Regions from separate parts of the Homo sapiens genome. Here region 1 is linked to region 2. Evidence: promoter capture Hi-C in human tissues and cell types (Jung and others, 2019). All regions are on one chromosome and are shown on one strand. The core of a region is centred on a gene start or on the middle of the fragment in contact, and the rest is flanking DNA. Distances in the headings are between cores, read along the strand shown.

Region 1 (5,890 bases), core at 428-2,927, 320 kb after region 2:
TGAGACCAGCCTGACCACACGGTAAAACCCTGTCTCTACTAAAAATACAAAAATTAGCTGGGTGTGGTGGCGCGTGCCTGTAAGCCCAGCTACTCAGGAGGCTGAGGCAGGAGAACTGCTTGAACCCGAGAGGCAGAGGTTACAGTGAGCCGAGATCGTGCCACTGCACTCCATCCTGGGGGACAGCAAGACTCCATCTCAAAGAAAAAAAAAACCCAACTACCCGAGAGCAGAGCGGGCGCCCTGGTCTGCCACACTCTACCCCTGAGAGCAGAGTGGGCGCCCTGGTCTGCCACTCTCTACCCGAGAGCAGAGCAGGTGCCCTGGTCTGCCACACTCCACTCTTGCTCACCTCTGCTTCGCGCTGGGCCTGATTGTTTGCAGTGGCAACAGGAGACTTGCTCCAGCTGGTGGGAGGAAGGGGCAGTGAACCTGATGGTGCTTTTGGAGCTTCCCAGGGCCCTGAGGACGGCACCTCACCTCTGCAGGGAAGGGGGCAAATGTGGGCTGATGGACAGTGGCACTTCCACCAGACTCTTAAGTGTTCGACTATTTAGTGCATCTCAACTTTATTCCCTTGATGGAATGGGAGGCTCAAACTGCACAACATGGAATCTGGGGACTTTCCCTCCAAAGCACGTGTGGCCGGTCCTGTCCCTGAGAGGCCAGGCGTCATCAGAGTTCAGTATTTCCTGGGTTGATAAATACATGTAAAAAACGTTTCATAATACTTTCCCGGCTTATCCTGCATCCCACACGTGGCAGGACAGTAAATCTCAGTTCTGAAAACAACGCGGGTTGACAGGCCTGGGCTGACTTTCATAAGCAACAGCAACAGTAGACTATTACCGTGGTGGAAAACGCGGTGTAGGCTGTAAACGCTGAGTAAGTTAGTTATTGTTATCATTTCCTTAAAATCTTGTGATGTAACCTTGACCGCTACTACTATGAGAAAAGTGTTCAGCTTTCCATGTCCCATCTACCTCTTCCCTTCCTGAAAATATGAACAAGCGCGCACCATCCCTGGGAAGGAGAGTTTTAGGGCTCTATCATTTCTGCAGTGGCAATGAGCAACACCTGGAATAAAGAGCTTCACATTTGCCAGTTTTTCTACATTCAGTGTATACACAAAGCACCATGAATAATGCAGGTCAAATGATATGACTGAACATAGAATTAAACATGCTTTGTCAATTGTTTAGCAAATACTACAAATTTAATTATGCTAATGTTACATTTACCTTTACTGGAAATTTCAGCTGATTATATAATTCAGAAACTAGAAGATTATGACCAAGAGTCTTTCTCATCTTCATTATTCTGACGATAGCAGCATCAATCTGATATTGTCTATCCTGAAACACTCTCTCAGTGGTGCTAACCTGTTCCTCAACCTGTATAAAAAAGAAAAAAAAAGTTAAGTGTAAAACTGTATTTTCTTTTTATTTTTTGCGATGGAGTCTCACTCAGTTGCCTGGGCTAGAGTGCAATGGTGTGATCTCGGCTCACTGCAACCTCCGCCTCCCAGGATCAAGCGATTCTCTTGCCTCAGCCTCCCGAGTAGCTGGGATCACAGGCACCTGCTGTCATGCCCGGCTACTTTTTGTATTTTTGTACAGGCAGGGTTTCACTATGTTGGCCAGGCTGGTTTTGAACTCCTGACCTCAGATGATCCGCCCACCTTGGCCTCCCAAAGTGCTGGGATTACAGGTGTGAGCTACCACACCTGGCCTATATTTCAATATTAATGACCTGATGTTACCGAATTTGATGGGAAATGGTTTTTTTTTTTTTTTTGAGACGGAGTCTCACTCTGTCACCCAGGCTGGAGTGCAGTGGCGCGATCTCGGCTCACTACAAGCTCCGCCCCCCGGGTTCACGCCATTCTCCTGTCTCAGCCTCTCAAGTAGCTGGGACTACGGTGCCCCCCCACCATGCCCGGCTCATTTTTGTATTTTTAGTAGAGACAGGGTTTCACCATGTTAGCCAGGCTGGTCTCGATCTCCTGACCTCGTGATCCACCTGGCTCGGCCTCCCAAAGTGCTGGGATTACAGGCGTGAGCCACCGTGCCTGGCCGGAAATGTTCTTTTGATGCAAAGAAAGGTCAGACATTGGATGAATCCTACTTTATTATGCATGTTTACTTGTTGTAGTAAAAGGTACCTTCCCAGAATAGCAAAACTCCAAAACCAAAACTTAAAAAATATTTTTAAAAGTTATTTTCCTTATAAGAAAGCTGCAACAACTCTATGTGTGATGTAGATTAAAACTAGCAGCACAGTAAACAAAACATAATGACCATCAGGATATATTCCAGAAATGTTAAGTGTTGATCAACATTAGGAAATCTGTGAATATAAGTGAGAGCACTGTAGCAGTTGAAAGGTTAGATTACATGACCATCTTGATAGATGCTGAAAAGGCATGATAAAATTGATTTTTTGATTTAAAACAAACATTAGCATACAAGGATGAATAAAAAAGCATCTGAACATGATAAAACATGGTTATCAGAAACAAACAGCAAATACTAGAGACAACTTAACCTTAGTCCAACAGGAACCTGATGGGGATCTGCAGTTGAAATGAGGGCTGGGGGAAGGTCTGTGCATACATATGAGGCAAGTATGCTTCAGGATGGGAGAGACTCCAAGCTTTCATCACATTTTCAACAGGATCCATGACCCCCAAAAAGTTAACATCCTCTGAACTAGAGATAAAATTAGGAAGCTCAGCTGCACTGCTATTCCTTAAAAACATTACTTTAGAGGTTCTAACTATGCAATACAGGAACAGACTAAAGAGGTATATTGAAAAGGTGCAGACAAAACGATCATTATTTGTAGATGAGCTGGAAAATCCAAGAAAATCAACAGAAAAACTTTCAAAGCTAAAGAGTTTTGTAAAGTGGCTGGAAATAAAATAAATATACAAAGACAAATAGCATTAATACATACATTCTGATAAAAACCGTCAGAAATGTAAAGAAAAAAGGTCCCCTTTATAAGATATCAGCATTTCATTAGCCTGTCTTGCTTAAAACTCTAGTGGTTTTCCAAATGCTTCATGGATCTGAGCCATCTTCAGAGGGTCCAGCTGTGGCTCCCTGATCAGGCCTGTCTGGCTCAGCTTCCCCTTTTGGCAACGATGCTGCAGCCAGAGGCCTTCTTTCAGTTCCTGAGCAAAGCTAGTCACTTCTTCAGGAAAGCGTTGGCTGACGACAGTATTTAATTAGACTCTCCTGCACTTCTCTATCCTAACATTTTCCTCCACTCTTACAAGTTAGTCAATGTGTGTGATCCTCTGCTACCTCTCTGCTGGAAAAGACTGAACACTCCTAGAAACAAGGACTTATTCTTTATTGTTAATGGATGAATTCTCAGTGCTTCACAGAGGACCTGGGCCACCACAGATGCTCAATAAGTATTTGTTGAATGAATGAAAATTTATGACTAGCAAGAAATATGCAAGACTTACAGAAGAAAACTAGAAAGCTCTGAGAAAAAGATTTGTATGTATTTACATATATACACATATGTATGAATCACAAGATTTAATATGATAAAGATAAAAGCTCTGTAAATTAATGCAATATGGATTAAAAATGTCAATGTTCTTATTTGGGGGAGCAAAGGCGTGATACAATTATTGTCAAGTTCATTGGAAGAATAAAGTTATAGGAATAGCTACATTAATTAAAAGAACCTGGTGCCGGGCACGGTGGCTCACGGCTGTAATCCCAGCACTTTGGGGGGTCAAGGTAGGAAGACTGCTTGAGCCCAGGAGTTCAAGACCAGCCTGGGTAACATGGCAAGGCCTCATCTCTACAAAAAATACAAAAATTTAGCTGGGCGTGGTGGCATATGCCTGGGGCTGAGGTGGGAGGATCGCTTGAGCCCAAGAGGTTGAGGCTGCAGTGAGCTATGATCACACCACTGCACTCCAGCCTGGGCGACACTGTCTCAAAAAACAAAACAAAACAAAACAAAAAAAATGGCTGGCTATGAAATAGACACAGAATTTATAGAAGAGAATTGAGAAACTGACCTATATGAATTTGATACATAATAAGGTGATAATTCAAATAACTTGTTCAAGGATGATATTTTAAATTTGGTTTTGGAAAGGATGGGGGCAGTTAGACTGTTTTCAGATACTAAAATAATTTCTGCAACATGAAAAGAAAGATTTAAATGTAAAAACTTCTAGAAAAATAACATAGTATAAATGTTTTTTAAAACTCTGGTTAAGGGAATTTCTCTCTTAGGCCAATGATATGGTTTTGAATATGTGTCCCCTCAAAATCTCATGCTGAAATGTGGTCTCCAGTGTTGGAGATGGGACCGGGTGGGTGGGGGCAGGTCCCTCATGAATGGCTTGGGCCCTCCCCTTGGTGATGAGATCTGGTCGTTTAAACATGTGGGGCACCTCCCTCCCTGTTCTTGCTCATGCTTTTGCCACGTGAGACACCTGCTCCCCTTGCACCTTCCACCATGACTGGAAACTTCCTGAGGCCTCGTCAGAAGCTGAGGTGATGCTGGCACCATGCTTCCTGTACAGCCTGCAGAACCGTGAGCCAATTAAACTTCTCTTCTTTATAAATTACCCAGTTTCAGGTATTTCCTTATAGTAATACAAGAATGGCCTAATACAGCATTACACGTTAAGTCAGAAACCATAAAAGAAAAGGAGACTATATTTGAGAACTTAAAAACTGTTATGTGAAAAAAAAACCAATAAAAACAACAAAATTATCTGTCAAAAATGACAAAGCAGGCTGGGCATGGTGGCTCACGCCTGTAATCTCAGCATTTTGGGAGGCCGAGATGGGTGACTCACCTGAGGTCAGGAGTTTGAGACCAGCCTGGCCAACATGGTGAAACCCCGTCTCTACTAAAAATAGAAAACTTAGTTGAGTGTGGTGGCACATGCCTGTAGTCCCAGCTACTCGAGAGGCTGAGACAGGAGAATCGCTTGAACCCGGAGGACGGAGGTTGCAGTGAGCGAGATTGTACCACTGCACTCCAGCCTGGACGACAGAGTGAAATGCAAAAAAAAAAAAAAAAAAAAAAACGAAAAAAAAAAAGGGACAAAGCATTAATATCCTTAATATATAAAGAAAACCTACTAATCAGTAAGAGAAAAAACATTATAATGAATGCATATGACTTGAAAAGCAATTAGAAAAAGAAAAATACAAATGGCTAAGCATAAAAAGAGCAGCATCAACATGTATGAAGTGCTTACAGGTGTGTGGCAAAGAGCTTTCTAAACGATTCATTTAATTCTCACAACTTGAGGTAGTAGTATGTCTATTTTAAATATGAGAAACTGAGCATTAGAAAGATTATATAATTTGTATAAACTACTGAGTGGTAGAAAGATGCTGTAAAGAATCAGAAATCAAAATGAAAACTGCAACAAACTATCTTTGGGCTGCTCAGAACAGGGTGAGCGAAGGACAGGTGGAGGTGGGGGCAGACACTGTGCTCTGGTGAAATCTGCCAGACTTCAACTTGGAAAAGAGCAAACTAAGACAAGTACACATTATTTTACCCAGCAGCTCCAGAGCAAGAATCACACTAAAGAAACAATCTAACAAGTGCACAGAAATGTCTGTGCCAGGGTGTTGAACGTAATCTTATTTTCAGGAGGGGCAGTGGAGGAATGTTAGTGCCTGTGGCCGAGGGCACTGCCAGCCCTGGTGGGTCTACACAACCGGCACTGTGCTCCTGCAACAAGTCCTGGCCAGGAGAAGACTGCGATCAGCAACGAAAACTGGCTACAGGAAGGCCCTGACAGGTGCCATATGTACAGTGATCCCAGGTGTTTTTTCTTTTGTAGAGTTTGGGGTCTCACTGCATTGCTCAGGCTGGCCTCAAACTCCCG
Region 2 (5,974 bases), core at 2,084-4,583:
CTGAGGTCAGGAGTTCAAGACAAGCCTGGCCAACATGGTGAAACCCCGTGTCTACTAACAAAAAATTAGCTGGGTGTGGTGGCGCGCCTGTAATCCCAGCTATTTGGGAGGCTGAGGAGAAGAACTGCTTGAACCCAGGAGGCCAAGGTCACAGTGAGCTGAGGTCGCGCCATTGCACTCTAGCCTGGGCAACAAGCAAAACTCCGTCTCAAAAAACAAAAACAAAACACCTAACTGGTTATCGATGTTCCCTTCTGCAAAAGCTGCCAACATCATCTTTTCAAAACTCAAATGTCACACCTCTACTTAAAAGAGTTAGCTAGGCCGGGCGCGGTGGCTCACGCCTGTAAGGCGGGTGGATTGTTGAGGTCAGGAGCTCGAGCCCAGCCTGGGCAACATGGTGAAACCCCATCTCTACTAAAAATACAAAAAAATTTGCCAGGCATGGTGGCACATGCCTGTAATCCTAGCTTCTCGGGAGGCTGAGGCGAGAGGATTGCTTAAACCCAGGAGACAGAGGTTGCAGTGAGCCAAGATCGCGTCACTGCACTCCAGCTTGGGAGACAGAGTGAGACTCTGTCTCAAAAAAAAAAAAAAAAAAAAGAGCTAGCGAAAACATCAAATTCCTTGACTTGTTCACAACCTCACTTTCCATCCAGACCCAGCACTCCTGACCACTCCCAGGCTTTGAGCAGGGAAGGCCTCACCAGCTGCAGAATCCTACTCTCCTCCCAGCGCCAACCCCCAACTCAGATCACAACCCCTGAGTGCAAGGTGAGCCCCCAGCCCCTGTGCCTATGCAGTTCCTGACAAATGCTGCGTCTCAGGTGCCCACACTGGATGGAGCATTCAGGGTCCTGCAGAGCCGGACCACCTTTCCACACGCCCCCCACCCCCAGCCTCACACTACATGCTGCTCACAGACAGTGCCAGTGAAATCACGGGGGAATGAAAGAGGGCCCCGAAAACACCATCCATTATGTATCAAAGCGTGTTTGAGAACCATCTGAGGAAACCACACAGGAAACCACACAACACCAGAAGCGTGCTCTAACCGAGGCCCTGGGTCCAGCTCCTCACCATGAGGAGATGTAATGAACATGGCTTGCGCGCTGAGCACATGCCCACATCTGGCATTCTGAGTGCATGCCCGCACGAGGTCAGGGCATGGTACGGACAAGCACAGTGGAGAGGATAAAAGTAGTCTCGCAGCACAGCCAGATATGACTTCAAAAACTCACACTGGGTCCACCTGGGTGCTCACACACCCTCTCTAAAGGGGACCCCAGTGCTTGAAGGCAGGGATGCCGTGTGACATGCCTGGTCGCAGGTCAGGGAGGGCAGACACCCCAAAAGGCCTCGCAGGGACCACTGAAACCTCTGCGCCAACGGAGAGGGCTCCACACTCTGGACGCATTTTCGCTACAGATGTATCTCAGGCAGAGGCAGCATGTGCGGACTCTTTCCAACTCTGTGCGGTAAGTAGGTAAACACATCAACAGCACCTTTCACTCAGTTACAAAACGATGCACGGTGGGAAACACTAAAGAATCCAGCTGGTGTTTCAGTGACTGACATAACCAAGCACGGTAAAGAACCGCACACCAATAAAATAGACTAAATTTCTGGCTTTAAAAAATTTTCAAAATATTCTATAGTTTCATGACAACTGCAAAGCAGGCTAAGTAGCATTTTTTACCAGATTTCATAAATCAGGAAATCTCATCCTTCTGAGAAAAAAAGTGGCCAAAACAAGTCCTTAGCTCTTGGTCCACCCAAGTGGAATTAACTTCCTCTGTAGGAAGACAGGTGCCAGCAGGTGGCTACAGCCTGAGCCCTGAGCCTGGCCCCCGTCCAGCGTCTCATGTGGAAGCCCCCCAAGAAATGCAGGATTCGCTGCGGTGCTGCAACACCCTCCACCTCAATTTAATTAAGGCGTTTATTTAAAATTATCAATTAACACAGTCGGTAAAGATAAGGAAAAAGTCAGAAGGCACCACCCCATCACCACCCAACTGCAGTGTGGTATCCAAGGCCACAACTTGTGGGTGGTGACCGCAGCTTCAGAGATCAGATCCTTCCATCTTTCACCTTCATCCCGCTTCAGACGCTTTAAAAGTCTGAAAATAAACACTACTGTAGCTTATGTGTTGTCATTCTGAAATAAAGGCAGAGAACTACAAAGAATTTAGTGCGAGGCAAACATTCGTGTGCAGCATGAAGCAAACATACTTACATCTTTTGCCATGTTACCAGATCCGGGAAATCAATGCTACAAATGTTCACCTTCCCAGAGAAGAAAAATGATTTTTCTGGTAAAAAAAAAAAAAAAAGTAAGGAAAAACAAGAAATAAGTAAGAATGAAAAACGAAGTTTAAAAAATAACACATCTCAAAGGAAACGCGGACCTTCCTTCCCAAAGGCACCCTCCATCCTGAGAGCGGAGCTGGCCAAACCGACTCCCACACTCAGGATTTTCAGTCGCCTCGCCAGACGGAAATGCCCCCTGCGGAAAAGTGGCCCGCGGGCCCGCAGGGTCACCACCACTACCCCCAGGTCCCCGACGGCCCGCCCAGCGGCCGAGGGTGGGGCCGAGCCCCAGGAGCCAGGGCGCAGCGCCTCCCTCCCGCCGCTGCAGGGGGGTGCCCCACCACCCACCTGGGCACAGCCCCGGGGTCCCGGCGCAACGTGCAGGCTCGCGGCGTCCACCCCAGACCCCGGCGGCGCCCGCCCGGCTGACCGGTAACTCTGACAGGTGGGCTTCCGGGGTCCGCGCCGCGCGCCTGTCACTAGGCCTCGGGCCGCCTCCGCACGAGGCGCCTCCCGCGCGCGCCGGAACCGGGTCCCCGCGGGCCGCCGTGGGGCGGCCTCCCCTCCCCCGCCCTGCGCGCTCCGGCCGACCCTGGCCCCAGCCCCGGCCCCGGCCCCGGCCCCACCTCCAGCGTGGGGCGCGGACGCTGCTGTCGGCCGGGAGGGCCGGGCCCGGGACCCCCGCCCCGCGGTCACCTGGGGAGCCCCTACCAGCGCCGAGCGCGCGGGGTCCCCGAGGCACAGGAGCGCGCAGGGCGCGGGAGGGCGCGGGTCGGGGCCGCGCGGCGCCTACACGCGGCCGGGGCAAGGGATGGGGTGGCCGGGGGTCCCGCCCGCACCCCCGGCTCCCGCCCGCGGCTCCCGCGGCATCCCCTGCCCACCCGCACCTGGCTGCCCGGTCCGGCCGCGCGGGCGGGGACGCGGAGAGGGCGCGGTGCGGAGCGCGGGGCGGCGCGGAGAGGCGCGGGCTGGGGCCGGGCCGGGCGGTCCCGGCCGTGGCGGGGTCCCTGCCCTGGGCCGAGTGGCGCCGGGACGCGGGGCTCACCCTGGCCGAGCGTCGGGCCGGCGTGACGTGCGCGCGGCGCGGTGACGTGGGCGGCGGCGGGCCCGCTCCGCGCAGCGCGCCTGCGCGCCTTTTCGCGCCTTCGGCGCCCTCCTCCTCCTCTTCTGCTGCTCCTCGGTCTCCCGCTCCTCCCGCCAGTGCTGCGCGCCCTGGGAGAGCGGGGAGGGGCTGTGCGCGCGTGTCCGTGTGTGCGCGTGCGCGTGCGGAGATGTAGCTGGGGCCTGCGCCGGGACGGGCAGTGCGCGCGCGCGGCGTGCGCTCGGCGGCCAAGGGACTGTGTTTGTGCGCGCCTCTGACTGTGTGTGTCCGGAGAGAGAGGTGGCCGGCTGTGTGCAAGAGTGTGTGTGCACATGGGGGAGCGGGGCCGGCTATGTGCACGAGTGTGTGTGCATGTGGGGGAGCGGGAGCTGGTGTGTGCACGTGGGGGAGCGGGGCCGGCTGTGTGCAAGAGTGTGTGTGCACGTGGGGGAGCAGGGACTAGTGTGTGCACTAGTGCATGTGCACGTGAGGGAGCGGGGACTGGTGTGTGCACTAGTGTGTGTGCATGTGAGGGAGCGGGGACTGGTGTGTGCACTCGTGTGTGTGCATGTGAGGGAGCGGGGACTGGTGTGTGCACTCGTGTGTGTGCATGTGAGGGAGCGGGGACTGGTGTGTGCACTCGTGTGTGTGCATGTGAGGGAGCGGGGACTGGTGTGTGCACTCGTGTGTGTGCATGTGAGGGAGCGGGGACTGGTGTGTGCACTCGTGTGTGTGCATGTGAGGGAGCGGGGACTGGTGTGTGCACTAGTGTGTGCATGTGAGGGAGCGGGGACTGGTGTGTGCACTAGTGTGTGCATGTGAGGGAGCGGGGACTGGTGTGTGCACTAGTGTGTGCATGTGAGGGAGCGGGGACTGGTGTGTGCACTCGTGTGTGTGCATGTGAGGGAGCGGGGACTGGTGTGTGCACTAGTGTGTGTGCATGTGAGGGAGCGGGGACTGGTGTGTGCACTAGTGTGTGTGCATGTGAGGGAGCGGGGACTGGTGTGTGCACTAGTGTGTGTGCACATGGGGCAGCAGGTAGGGGGCCGGGTATGTCAGGATGTGTGTTTGTGTGCAGGGAGCAGAGAGTGCCGGCTGTGTGCGCGAGTGTGGGGGGGGGAGCAGGGACTAGTGTGTGCAGGAGTGTGTGTGCACTTGGAAGAGCGGGGCCGGGTGTGTGCTTGAGTGTGTGTGCTCAAAGAGGAGAGCCAGCTGTGTGTGCGCCTGTATGCACGGAGGAGAGGGGGCCGCTTGTGTGCACGAGTGTGTGTGCACATAAAGGGCCGACTGTGTGTGGGGCTGTGCATGTATGGAGAGCAGGTGTGTGCATAGACGTGTGTATGTGGACACACGGAGGAGAGCAGGTGTGTGTGCGTGCGTGGCACAGAGGCCTCTGCCTCTGCTGGACCCGGTGGCCTCCAAGCCCACGACGGGCCTCCGCCCAGATTCCCAACAATTCTGGGCGTCCTCGGTGCCCACCGGACGCAGCCTGGCCCGGGACTCGGGAGGGAAAGCAGGGACAGGAAAACTCCAGAAACAGTTTCATTGCATGGTGAGCCTGGTGGTCCCGGAGTCTTGGAGACTTAATCCACCCTGGAGGGCCCCGCCGCTAGGGCCAGGCCCGAGCACCCCAGCCAAGGGCGGGCTAGGCCAGAGAAGAGTCCGAAGTTCAGGGCCACAGCAGGCGGCAGAGGCTGGTGCGCGCCGAGGGTAAGGAACATCTACAGAGGACTTGAGGAGCTGACCAAAGGCCTCTCTGCCTGTGCGGTGTATTATTACATGACAGCCCACTTTGCACGTTTTATGCTGATTTTGGCCACTCCTGCCCCTCAGGCAACGCCGCACCCCCTAAAGCTCTGGTCACTTGGCTTAAACTGCTTACAAGTTAGCACCCGTTTCTTCTTTGAAGACTACCAGAAACGCTCACTTTCTGCGAGCTGGTTCACACAAATAGATACTTAGAGAACACTGATGTTCCTCAAATGGCCCTATCTTCCTAGGTCCGTTCCTTCTGTTTCACAGGGATTCTTTATGTGTTCCTAAATGTCAGTATTTGAGCCCTGATGGCAACAGTGACACCCTCCCAGCCTCTGGGGACTTCTCCCTGAGACCTGGGGGCTCCAGTTAGGAGGATACACACGTAGGGTCCAAAATTGGGGTCTTAAACGTCTTCCCCACAAATTCAGGATTCTGATAATTCAACAATGTTTATATGGCTGATAACTAATATTATTCAAAGAAGTTTCTGCACAAAAATCACTGTACTGAGATACTCCGAACGCGCACGAGGCACTGCGGCAATGAATGCTCACGGTGCTCTGTGTGGCTTAGGAAAAGGGCAAAAAGTTACTCCCTTTTTCCTCTCCATAGCCACATGTTCCACAGAAAGCCCTCGTTTCTCTTAACAAAAGTTAACAGAATTCCCTCTAAAATTTTGGTTGATGATCCAAATATTTTTAGCCACTGCCTTGCCTTGCAGTCTCTCGATTGGGTTGCTGAAATGCAAACTTCCTAAATAAGCCCATAACCCTCGGAATTTATCTAAGCCTTTGGCCTCCCTGTATCTCTGGAGCCTGGGCTGTT

Evidence for each region. Contacts are between HindIII fragments. The study calls those that stand out against the background at their distance.
Region 1: a fragment that was not itself captured here is called in contact with the fragment with the promoter of TFDP1 in region 2 in 1 of the 25 tissues and cell types used here (lymphoblastoid cells).

What each region holds. Positions count from the first base shown.
Region 1 is chr13:113,256,111-113,262,000 of GRCh38, reverse strand. CUL4A (cullin 4A) reads right to left here. Exons shown (of 20, transcript NM_001008895.4): 19 at 1,242-1,394. Among named protein-coding and RNA genes, the nearest start is that of MIR8075, 3.9 kb to the left of the region's middle. The HindIII fragment of the contact is 6,677 bases long and covers 1-5,015 here.
Region 2 is chr13:113,582,112-113,588,085 of GRCh38, reverse strand. It overlaps TFDP1 (transcription factor Dp-1), which reads right to left and starts at 3,333. Exons shown (of 12, transcript NM_007111.5): 1 at 3,198-3,333; 2 at 2,237-2,312. The coding sequence starts at 2,248. RefSeq lists enhancers at 961-1,561, 3,539-4,510, 4,511-5,484 and silencers at 2,501-2,870, 3,241-3,570. The HindIII fragment of the contact is 44,568 bases long and covers 1-5,974 here.